Regions from separate parts of the Homo sapiens genome. Here regions 1 and 3 are each linked to region 2. The links are contacts of gene promoters, found by promoter capture Hi-C in blood cells and fetal thymus (Javierre and others, 2016). All regions are on one chromosome and are shown on one strand. The core of a region is centred on a gene start or on the middle of the fragment in contact, and the rest is flanking DNA. Distances in the headings are between cores, read along the strand shown.

Region 1 (3,201 bases), core at 296-2,795, 510 kb before region 2:
ATCTAAACATAGAAAAGGTACAGTAAACACATGGTGTTATAATCTTATGGGACTATATTATAATCTTATGGGAACATCATATATGTAGTCTATCAGTGACTAAAATGTTGTTATGTGGTGCATGACAGTATTGCAATTATGTGTCTTACTAAGGGGGTAGTCAAGGCTCAGAGACTGACCCAGCTGCTTTCCTAAAGGCTACTCAGGACAAGGGCTTTGTTATTAGACAGTGCTATTAGACTGGATGTACTTTCCCCAGATTGCTCAAGCTTTCATCCATAGTAAGTGATTATACACTGGGCTCCTTTGAGTTTAGGTACATGGAATGATGTCATGTCCTTGGCACAAGATAGCGCTGTCCTCCTGCAAGAGTTCACACCAGCTTGCAGTGGGGTAAAGTGGGGGCAGCAGAGGGAAGGAACTCAAGGACCTCAGAGACCTTTGGGCCCACACTTTTCAGAAGCCTTCTGAAATGGCAGAGCAAGTCAGGACCTGCCAAGGTATGATTCAGAATTGCAGCACCCCAAAGCTAGCAAGAAACTTGTAGGTCACTAACTCACCCCAGCCCATCCCCCGAAGCCCAGTAAGGGCTATACAGTTGGGTAAAGGCAGGACCTGGGCTAAAACTCAGGTATGTTCTTTTTTAAAGAGATAGATCTGGCTATGCTGGCAGGCTGGAGTGCAATGGCTATTCTCATGTACACTCAGGGCTCACTGCAGCCTCAAATTCCTAAGCTCAAGCAATCCTCCCAACTGAGCCTCCCGAGTAGCTGAGACTACAGGCACGCACCACCACACCTGGCTAAACTCAAGTATCTTGACTGCCAGATTGGCAGCCTGTCTCTTACAGCAGTGCTTCTCCAACTTTAACATGTGTATGAATCACCTGGGGAGCTTATTAAATGTAATTCTGATTCAGATCGAGGGTAGGGTACGAAATTTTGCATTTTGAATAAGCTTCCTGTGATGCCAGTGTTGCTAGTGGAGGACTAATTCTCTGAGAAGCACATTATTACATCTCCATTCTTAACATTTCTCAATCACAGAAAAATCCAGAAAACAGTCCCTCCTGCACTGCCTGGGATCTGAAGAAAGACAGTCATTTTCTTAATCTCTTTTTATTATTATTATTATCAAATTGACTTCAAACAATTAAGTCCCAGCCTTCTCCACTGGAGAGGTCCCTGAATTTCTGCCTAGCCACTTAGTGGGAAGGGAAAGAAAACTGTAAGACTAATATTCCCATCCTTTCTATCAGGTGAGTTTCCATCTAAAGCAGCAGCTCTCCAAGTGTCATCCACAGACCAACAGCTTCACCCAGACTCTTGGTAGAAATGCAAATTTTAAAACTCTAGGAGTGAGTCCCAGAAAGATGTGTTTTAACAAACCTCTCCAGGTGATACAGATACAGTCTCAAGTCCAAGAATCAGTGAGGTAAGACTCATAGCCAAGAGCAGCCAATCAGTGCTTGCAGCTCTGTATCAAGGAAGGGGATTGTATCCAAAAAGTGCTCGCAAAACAATCATCCTCCAGCTCCAGGACATGGACCACTTTGGAGCAAAGAATTGTATATAATCATAACCCAAACCAATGAGTCTGCATGATTATGTGGCCCACCCATGGTGTCTCTCTTCATTGAACTCAAAGATTCCCGAAGCATCAAAAAAGACACTCAAATTTGCTCCCTCAAGGGTTCCTGTCCTTCAGGAAGTACAACCGTAGTGTCCTTGGAACCACGTGTGTGGTCATAGCCCTCTCTGCCTCACACCCCTGGGTGGAGTGCTTTATATACCTGGCTCTCTCCACCAGATAAGATGACAGCTTCTTGCCATGTTCATCTGTGTGTGTGTGTACACGTGTACCCGTGTGTATGTGCCCGTGTGCCCGTGTGTGTAAACTCCTCAACTATATGTTCTTGGAACAGACACCATCTCAAGCTCCATCCTGTCAAACAGGCTGGGACACCAGCAGGTGAAGCTGATGCAGCCGACCTGTGTTCTGCCATGGTAATATTATGGAAATCCTGTAAATATAATCCCACACCTTCTACCGTCTATGCACCTCCCTCATTTTTTAAAATGAGAAACAATAAGAAAACCTCGTGAAAATGTTTGCTGTAACTTTTAAGCTTAATAAGCCCAGCCCTAATAGAACATTCGCTTCTTTGTCTGGCATATAAAGTTGTGATTCATCTGTACGCAATTCCACCTTGTTTGTTATACTGTTGCCATGACAACATTTTTCAAGTACCAAGTAAATTGTGGAAGAGCACATACAAACAGCACACTCCTATAGGTAAATACTTCATTACTATCTGCACACACATTTCATTCACTGCATCCGCTCTCTCCTATCTCAATAAACGCAGCTCTATTTACATCCAGTTTTTGAATTCTTTCCTCCCAAGGATATGTGAAAGCTTTGCTCCACCTGAAAAAGTCTAAATCAAAGACGATTTGGGTTTGAATATTTTAAAATATTTTTCTTTTTCCACAGTTATTCTGGAGGGGCTATCGACACAACAGAAGTTTTAAATATCAAACCAAGAAGTTAATATCCAAAGTTCTCTCCAACCCAAAGAGCAGACATTTCTGCCTTCCATCTCCATGCAAACCGCACAACACCCAGACACCAGTGGTGGACTTTGAGAGTTGACATCCTAGTAGTTTACATGCTTGTTGGGCATTTGTGTACTTATAGCCATACGAGCTCTAAGCCCCAAGTGGCCAGGATGTCTGTATCATATCTTGAGATGTGCTTAGATACAGATCTGTATCTCATCTTCACCTCTCCCATATCAACCAATGCAATGGTTCCATGGATAGATGCATTGGAATCATTTGGGAGCTTTCAAAAGTAGATTCCTGGGTGCCATACCTGGGAACTACGTTCTGAGTAGGTCTATAAAATGGCCATAAAAATTGTCCTTACTCAGAGGACTGTTGTGAGAATTATATGAGATCAAAAATGCACATAAGGCTGGGCGCCGTGGCTCACGCCTATAATCCCAGCACTTTGGGAGGCCGAGGCGGGCAGATCAAGAGGTCAAGAGATCAAGACCATCCTGGCAAACATGGTTAAACCCCATTTCTACTAAAAATACAAAAAAATTAGTTGGGTGTGGTGGTGCGTGCCTATAGTCCCAGCTACTCGGGAGGCTGAGGCAGGAGAATCGCTTGAACCCGGGAGGCAGAGGTTGCA
Region 2 (3,628 bases), core at 754-3,253:
TACCTTCAAAATATTGCCAGCATATGACCACATTCTCTTTACCTGCATTGTTTCTGACTTCATCTCCCATCATGCTTCCCCTCACTCAGCCACAATGGGTTCCTTCCTGCTCCTTAAAGAAGCCAAGCCTTAGCTGGGCGCGGTGGCTCACGCCTGTAATCCCTGCACTTTGGGAGGCTGAGACGCATGGATCACCTGAGGTCAGGAGTTTGAGACCAGCCTCGCCAACATGATGAAACCCCGTCTCTACTAAAAATACAAAAAATTAGCTGTGCATGGTGGTGGGCGCCTATAATCCCAGCTACTTAGGAGCCTGAGGCAGGAGAATTGCTTGAACCCGGGAGGAGGAGGTTGCATTGAGCCAAGATTGCACCACTGCACTCCAGCCTGGGCAACAGGAGTGAAGCTCCGCCTCAAACAAAACAAAACAAAAAAAAAACAAAAGAAGCTAAGCCTCAGAACCATTGCACCTGCCATTCCCTCTGCCTGTCCTGCCCTTTCCTCAGCTATCCACATGGCAGGTTCCTCAAGTCTTGCAGGTCTTTGCTGAAACGCCACTCCCCCAGAGGAGACATCCCTGACCACTCTGCCTGGCACTCTTTGTTCCCCTTACTCCAGAGCATCTATCACCAACTCACACACTACATATATTCATTTACTCTGTCTCCCATACCAGAATGTAAATCCTTTGAGGGCAGGGATTTTATCTGTCCTGTTCGCTATATGACAATGACATAGAGTAAGGATTGAGCTCAATAATTACTGAGTACATGAATATCACAAGCTATACATCATAGGGATTAGGCCTCCCTCATCTGATTCAAGACTCAGAGGGGGTACATGAACTGCCCAGGCTCACACAGCCAGACAGCAACAGAACCAAGACCTAGGGCTCTTCACTCCTGTTACATCACACCATGGCAATGATTTTACATTCTCCAACTGATTCAAATCATATGGCAGCTAGGGATTTGGGGGCTCCATGTTTTATTTCAATTGCAGTTCAAGATTTCTTTTTATCTTTGTGGCTGAGAACCCTACAATAATTTTGGAAAGCAAAACCCATCTACCTGGAGTAAATCTTTAATATACACCTGACTACACAGGCCACAACATGGGCCGTTCCTGATTCAGAAAATTCTAGAAGGGTCCTATAGGCCCTTGAAGGTTATGATGTTTTAGCTGATCAAGTTCTGTCCTTTGCTGCCTGTGGTCGAATGGTACAGCAGCTGTCTTTTCTGATAAAGGGCACAGTTAGACTTTGGTTTAAACAGGAAGCCAAATGTTAACTCCTCAGTCTCCAGGTTAGCACACTGGGCTACCTCTGTGGTTTCCACAATTCTCTTCTTTCTTTCCAAACCCTCAGGAGCCACCCTCCATATTAACGCTGTCTCCTTCCAGGTTAAGCTGATGAAAGGAAGGGGAAAACGATTCACTTTCCAAAATTGAATCGGAGAAGTCCAGGGCCTCATAGGAGGAGGCCGCTGTGTGTCCAGATGGCCAAAGGTCTGTGAGAGCCTGGGCCGTGGTTTGCGTCCTCTCGCTAGAGGCCGTGCGCCCTCCCGCCTGGCCCCGACAAGGCGCCCCGAAACCTAGCCCCGCGCCGCTCGCTAGGCCTCCACCTGCGCGGCCCCGCAGCCGCCTGTTCAGGAGCGGCTTCCTCCCTGAGCCTGCGGTCGCCGCAGCCTCCCCGTCTTAGAGCGGGAACCCGGAGCTCGGATGCGGTCCCAGGATGGGCGCCCCGCGAGCAGGCTGGAGGGCGGGGAGAGGGCGCGGCAGCCGCGGGCCTCGGTTTCTTCATCTGCAAAGGGAAGGGTGGGGGGTCCCCAAGACCCCAGTCCACCGGCAGGGACGGCGACGCGTCCGGCCTCCGCCGCGCCCGCAACACTTGTCCCGGGCGCCCCCCGCCCTCTCCCGGACCTACTTCCCCGAGCCGCTCACGCCCATCACCAGCAGCGCGCCCGGCGCCGCCATAACCCAAGCTCGGCTCCTTCCCGTCGCCTTCCGGGCCCCGCCGGCCCCGGCCTACCCGGCGCTCGAGGGGCGGAGCCGCTCTCGCCCCGGCCGGGGCAGTGAGGGCCGTGCCCCTCTGCGCCCTCCCCGTTTTCCCGCGCCCCTTTTCCATGCTTTCCTCCTCCCTTTCCCAACCTCCCGGCCTCTCTCTCCTGCCCCTTCTTTTCCTCTCCCCTCCCCTCCCTCTTTCCTCTTCCCGGAAGTGAAGCGCGCGCCCGGCCTGGCACTCGCGTCTCCCTGGGCTGGAGGGAGCCGCCCAAAGCCCCGCCACCTGTCGTTCTACTGCCCCGGCCCCTCTTGGTTCCAGAGGATCCTCACCCTGGCAGGCCGGATCCTCATCCACCCATGGAAAGCATTCATTCATTCATTTATAAAAATGTTCTTGTAAAAAGAATAAACAGAAAATAAGACTCATAATTTCCCACACCAGGCAGCAATAAGCAGCACTTCCTAAAACGACTCCCCTTTCCCCGCGCCCCGTCGTAGATAGATGGGTATGAGTATTTTGTAAAACTGGGATCAGGCCGTACACAGCGTTTTGTAATCTGGCCTTTTGTCACAATAATAAATGGCGGCCATCTTTTGGTGTCAAACTTAGGGTTGAGTGTTGACCGTAGCAGCATATGTCTTGGCTGTATGGCTCTGCTGTTAAATCCAGCACTGGTTGGGGCTTTAAGAGGAAGGAGCACCACTTTAAAGTGTCCATTTGCTTTAAAACAATGTTAATTATGTGTCGTTTGAACTATTTGATTAAAAGCACTTCTTTTTTTTTTTGAGACGGAGTCTCGCTCTGTCGCCCAGGTGGGACTGCGGACTGCAGTGGCGCAATCTCGGCTCACTGCAAGCTCCGCTTCCCGGGTTCACGCCATTCTCCTGCCTCAGCCTCCCGAGTAGCTGGGACTACAGGCGCCCGCCACCGCGCCCGGCTAATTTTTTTTGTATTTTTAGTAGAGACGGGGTTTCACCTTGTTAGCCAGGATGGTCTCGATCTCCTGACCTCATGATCCACCCGCCTCGGCCTCCCAAAGTGATTAAAAGCACTTCTAACCGCATTTGGCATCACCTCCTTTGGTCTTTTGTTAACCAAGGTAGGTATTACTCTGTGTCCTAGAAAACAATAAAAGTGACATAAAAGCATTTATCTAATGAATAGTTCAATTACCCCTGCACTGCCTTTGTTTTTCATATACTTAGCCCGAGTAGGTGAGATTTCAATCTGGATGGGGGCTGTACAGGTGAAGAAATTGAGGCTTGGAGAGAGGTCTTACAATTCAGTTATGGTCAATACACATTTCTTGAACATCTACCATGTGCTGGTTAATATCATATTAATATTCATTTAAAAGATTACCCTCTAGGCATTCTCAAGCTTGATAAGAGGAATAGATGTGTATGCAAATACTCTTAACTCGTGCCCTGCTTCGCTAGCTCAGTATGAAAAAAAAAAGCTCATATTTCTTTCAATGTTCAAATCAGAATGATTAGCAGAAAATCTGATTCTTCTCCTTGGATTTCTTTCCCCAGACATGTCCAAGGATCTTAAACTTGCTGTGCTGCTCAGGGTGGTGGCAGGAAACAGCATGCTCAAATTGGGGCAGGTGAACAGGATTTAACA
Region 3 (3,399 bases), core at 542-3,041, 550 kb before region 2:
TGACTTTCTCTCTCCAGCACTGCAGGATGAGAGGCCAAGGAAACACTGTCCTGAAACCATCCTCGCTCTTTTCAAGTGTTCTGCAGAGAGGGCACTCTGCCCCATCTTCTGCATTCCACCTGGGGCTGCGAGTCCCAGATGCCACTCTGTAAATATCAAGTGCCTCCTAATAACAAAACTCAAAATCTGGGAGGGCAGACAGACCACAAGGAGCAGGCTGACGAGCACTTTCTGAACCTCTTCAGTTTGTTTATGTCTCCAAGGCCTGCTTTTAGTCTCAGCCAATGTTCATGTAAAAACTTTCTCTCCACTGGAGATAATGATGCTTAAAAGACTCATGGCAGGAGGGACTCTGTGGGTGGAGCAGTCAAAAGAGCAGAGTTTTGGGGGTCAGAGAGACCCCAGTGAAAATCCTGGCTTTGCCCTTTAATAACTGCTTTGTCTGGTAAGTTTCATCTCTTCGCTCAAGTGGAGATGACACTGCCTTCTTCACAGGGCTGCAGCCACAATTACAGATGGCAGTGAAAAGGGCTTTGCTCATCAACTGGCCTAAAGGACTGTTTTTATGACAGATAAATCCCAAAACTTAATGTTACTTATTTCTAATCTCTTCTACTTTAGCCCTGGAGAAATGTTGCTGAAAAGGAACAAAACATCTGATTAGACTTTATTTCTTTTTTAAATCTTTCTTTCTCTATTTCAGACTTTAACTAATGGGAAAGTGGCCACAAGTATGTTGAACAGAAAAGGAGAGAGAACAAAGGGTTTCGATAACCCACAAACTATACCTGCTATTCTAGGTGGGCCGAATTTTGTCCAGCATCAAGTAGACAGATACTCAAAATGAAAAATATGCTTTATTTGTGGATGTCAGAAAAGATTTAATTAGAGGCAGCTTTAAAAACTGGGTGATTAGGGTCAAGCAATTTCATTGACACATTAAATAAGACTTACAGTTGAGTATCATGCCAAAGTTAACTACTTAGAACTACCAATATGTACGAAATCTGGGTAGATGAGACTGCTGGTATTACCCAATATCTATTCTCTTCTTCCACAGCAAGAGAATTTTTAGCTGAGCATATGAACTCCCAGAATAATAACTGCATTTCTTACCCTCTCTTGCAGATAGGTGTGGTCAAGTTATTAAGTTCTAGGCAAAGAAATGTAAGAGGAAGTGGTGTATGCAACATCACAGAAGTGTCCTTATAGGGAAGCTTCTTTTCCTCCTTTCTGCTGGCTGGAATGGGGACATGATGGCTTGAACTGGAGAAGCCATTCAATGTTCCCTGGTATTATGAATAATCACACCAGCCCCTAGACCATTTACTCAGACTTTCACATGAAAAAAATAAATTTCCATCTTTGTTCCACCACTCATTATTTTGGATTTTCTGTTGCTCACAGCTGATTCTAATCCTAATTCAGTCTGGGTGGCATGAATATACAATTGGCTGTGAATTGTTGAATTTCTTGATTTTTTTAATGCATCAAAATCAGGCATTAAAATGCATTGGCTTGGTTTTCTGTATTTGCTGTTTCTGCTATTAACAGAAGTCCTGCTTTATGAAGCAACAGGAACTGCCTTGGTTATTGTTTATATAAAATTTGCTTTGCATGTACAAAAATCTCATTTATCTTGCCATCTGATACTTGGTAGATTTGGGTGTTTAATGGATCTTTGTTACCAAATATTTTTTCACTCATTGTATACAGATGCTGCTCTTGGGCTATAGCCATCCTTCCTAACAAGCAAAAATCCTCAGAAGATATTTCCAGGTTTTTTTATTGAGGATGCGGGTGGTGATGGATAGCTCATCTCCCCGAAGTCATCCAGTAACCCAATTCTACAGACACTTTTTTTGTTGTTGTTGTTATTTGGATCAGGGCTCCATCTCCTCATTCCTCTCCTTTGTTTTATTTTTTGCTTTTTTGCAACAGAAACAGAGATCTGAATTACATTAATAAAATAGAAAAACAGAGTGTCTGCCTGTCCTCCCCCTCTCCCTCTCTTCCTTCCTTTTTTTTTTCCTCTCTCTCTCTCTCTCTTGACTTTGAGTGAAATATGCCTTTCTAAGACTAAGGCAAATGAACTTTTGGGAGGAAGAGGATCCAAATACATAAAACTTTGCATAATCTCTCAAGGGCTGGTGAGCCCCTGGGAGTCTTTTCAGGAACACTGAATTAAGGACCAGTGTCCTTGAGTTTATTCCAGAAAGCTGGAAGCGCTCCAGTTTACAGGTAACCTCAAGCTCTAATACAATTATCCCCCATTCACACTCTCCCTTTGTGATTTGTCAAATACCCGAATACCATTACTTTCCACTTCGGTTTAAATTGACTCACTTTTGAAACTTAAGCTTCACTAATATCCATGAAATCACAGATACGGTGTGCAATTTATATTTTTTCTAATACATGTTAAAACACATGGCCATTAAAATAAAAGTATGTGCCCATGTGCCATTGTTTTAGGTTGGGTTGAGACTAGGACTAGAGTACAAATCATCTATTTGAGAGGTGTTCCCAAGAAGCACCACTAGGGGGCCGGGGAAATAAGTGTGAAGAGAGGAAAGTCAATCCAGGGAGCATTACGGTCTTTGGGGTTGCATCCCTGCGGACCCCCTAAGAAAGCTGGAGAATGAGCCTCAGAGTTTTACCCACCATCTTCCCTTCGTCATTCTTTGAAAGCTACTCTCGTGGATGTGACCATTAACTCCTACCACTGCAGGCCCGCTGTGAAGGTGGGCAAGCCAGCTCCTGCAATCTGAGTTACAGACATTTGCAGTTAAGAAGCCGTCAGCACAGGCCGGGCCGGGCGCGGTGGCTCACGCCTGTAATCCCAACACTTTGGGAGGCCGAGGTGGGCGGATCACGAGGTCAAGAGATCAAGACCTTCCTGACCAACATGGTGAAACCCCGTCTCTACTAAAAATACAAAAAATTAGCTCGGCATGGTGGCGGGCGCCTGTAGTCCCAGCTACTCGAGAGGCTGAGGTAGGAGGATCGCTTGAACCCGGGAGGCGGAGATTGCAGTGAGCCGAGATTGCGCCACTGCACTCCAGCCTGGTGACAGAGCGAGACTCCGTCTCAAAAAACAAACAAACAAAAAACAGAAGCCATCAGCACAGCGAGGAACTGCAAGTGCCTAGGTAGTTTGCTTAGGGCACTAACCATATCTGCTTCAACTACCTAATACATCTTGCATCCCACCATTAGGATATATGCTGCATGTTGGACAATCCTATACAAAGGACCTGAAACCAATGTTTTTTAGCATAAGAGGACAATTTGGTCAGGTGGAGTAGGCATCTAGCTACATATTATAATTTTTTAATGTCAGAAAACGTCCCCTCCACAAATAGATCTCCTTTTGAAACTCCTCCCCCTCCACTTCAT

The links. Contacts are between HindIII fragments. The CHiCAGO score rates a contact against its expected background, and 5 or more counts as called.
Region 1: a contact is called between a fragment that was not itself captured here and the fragment with the promoter of IDNK in region 2, in 1 of 17 cell types (total CD8 T cells). The highest score is 5.2, in total CD8 T cells.
Region 3: a contact is called between a fragment that was not itself captured here and the fragment with the promoter of IDNK in region 2, in 6 of 17 cell types (activated CD4 T cells, total CD8 T cells, total CD4 T cells and 3 more). The highest score is 11.3, in activated CD4 T cells.

What each region holds. Positions count from the first base shown.
Region 1 is chr9:84,135,353-84,138,553 of GRCh38, reverse strand. No RefSeq gene overlaps it. Among named protein-coding and RNA genes, the nearest start is that of SLC28A3-AS1, 140 kb to the left of the region's middle. The HindIII fragment of the contact is 1,171 bases long and covers 960-2,130 here.
Region 2 is chr9:83,621,518-83,625,145 of GRCh38, reverse strand. It overlaps IDNK (IDNK gluconokinase), which reads right to left and starts at 2,003. Exons shown (of 5, transcript NM_001001551.4): 1 at 1,925-2,003. The coding sequence starts at 1,974. RefSeq lists enhancers at 1,399-1,448, 1,469-1,598 and a silencer at 1,779-2,308. The HindIII fragment of the contact is 10,566 bases long and covers 1-3,384 here.
Region 3 is chr9:84,172,427-84,175,825 of GRCh38, reverse strand. No RefSeq gene overlaps it. Among named protein-coding and RNA genes, the nearest start is that of SLC28A3-AS1, 100 kb to the left of the region's middle. RefSeq lists an enhancer at 2,338-2,847. The HindIII fragment of the contact is 1,143 bases long and covers 1,220-2,362 here.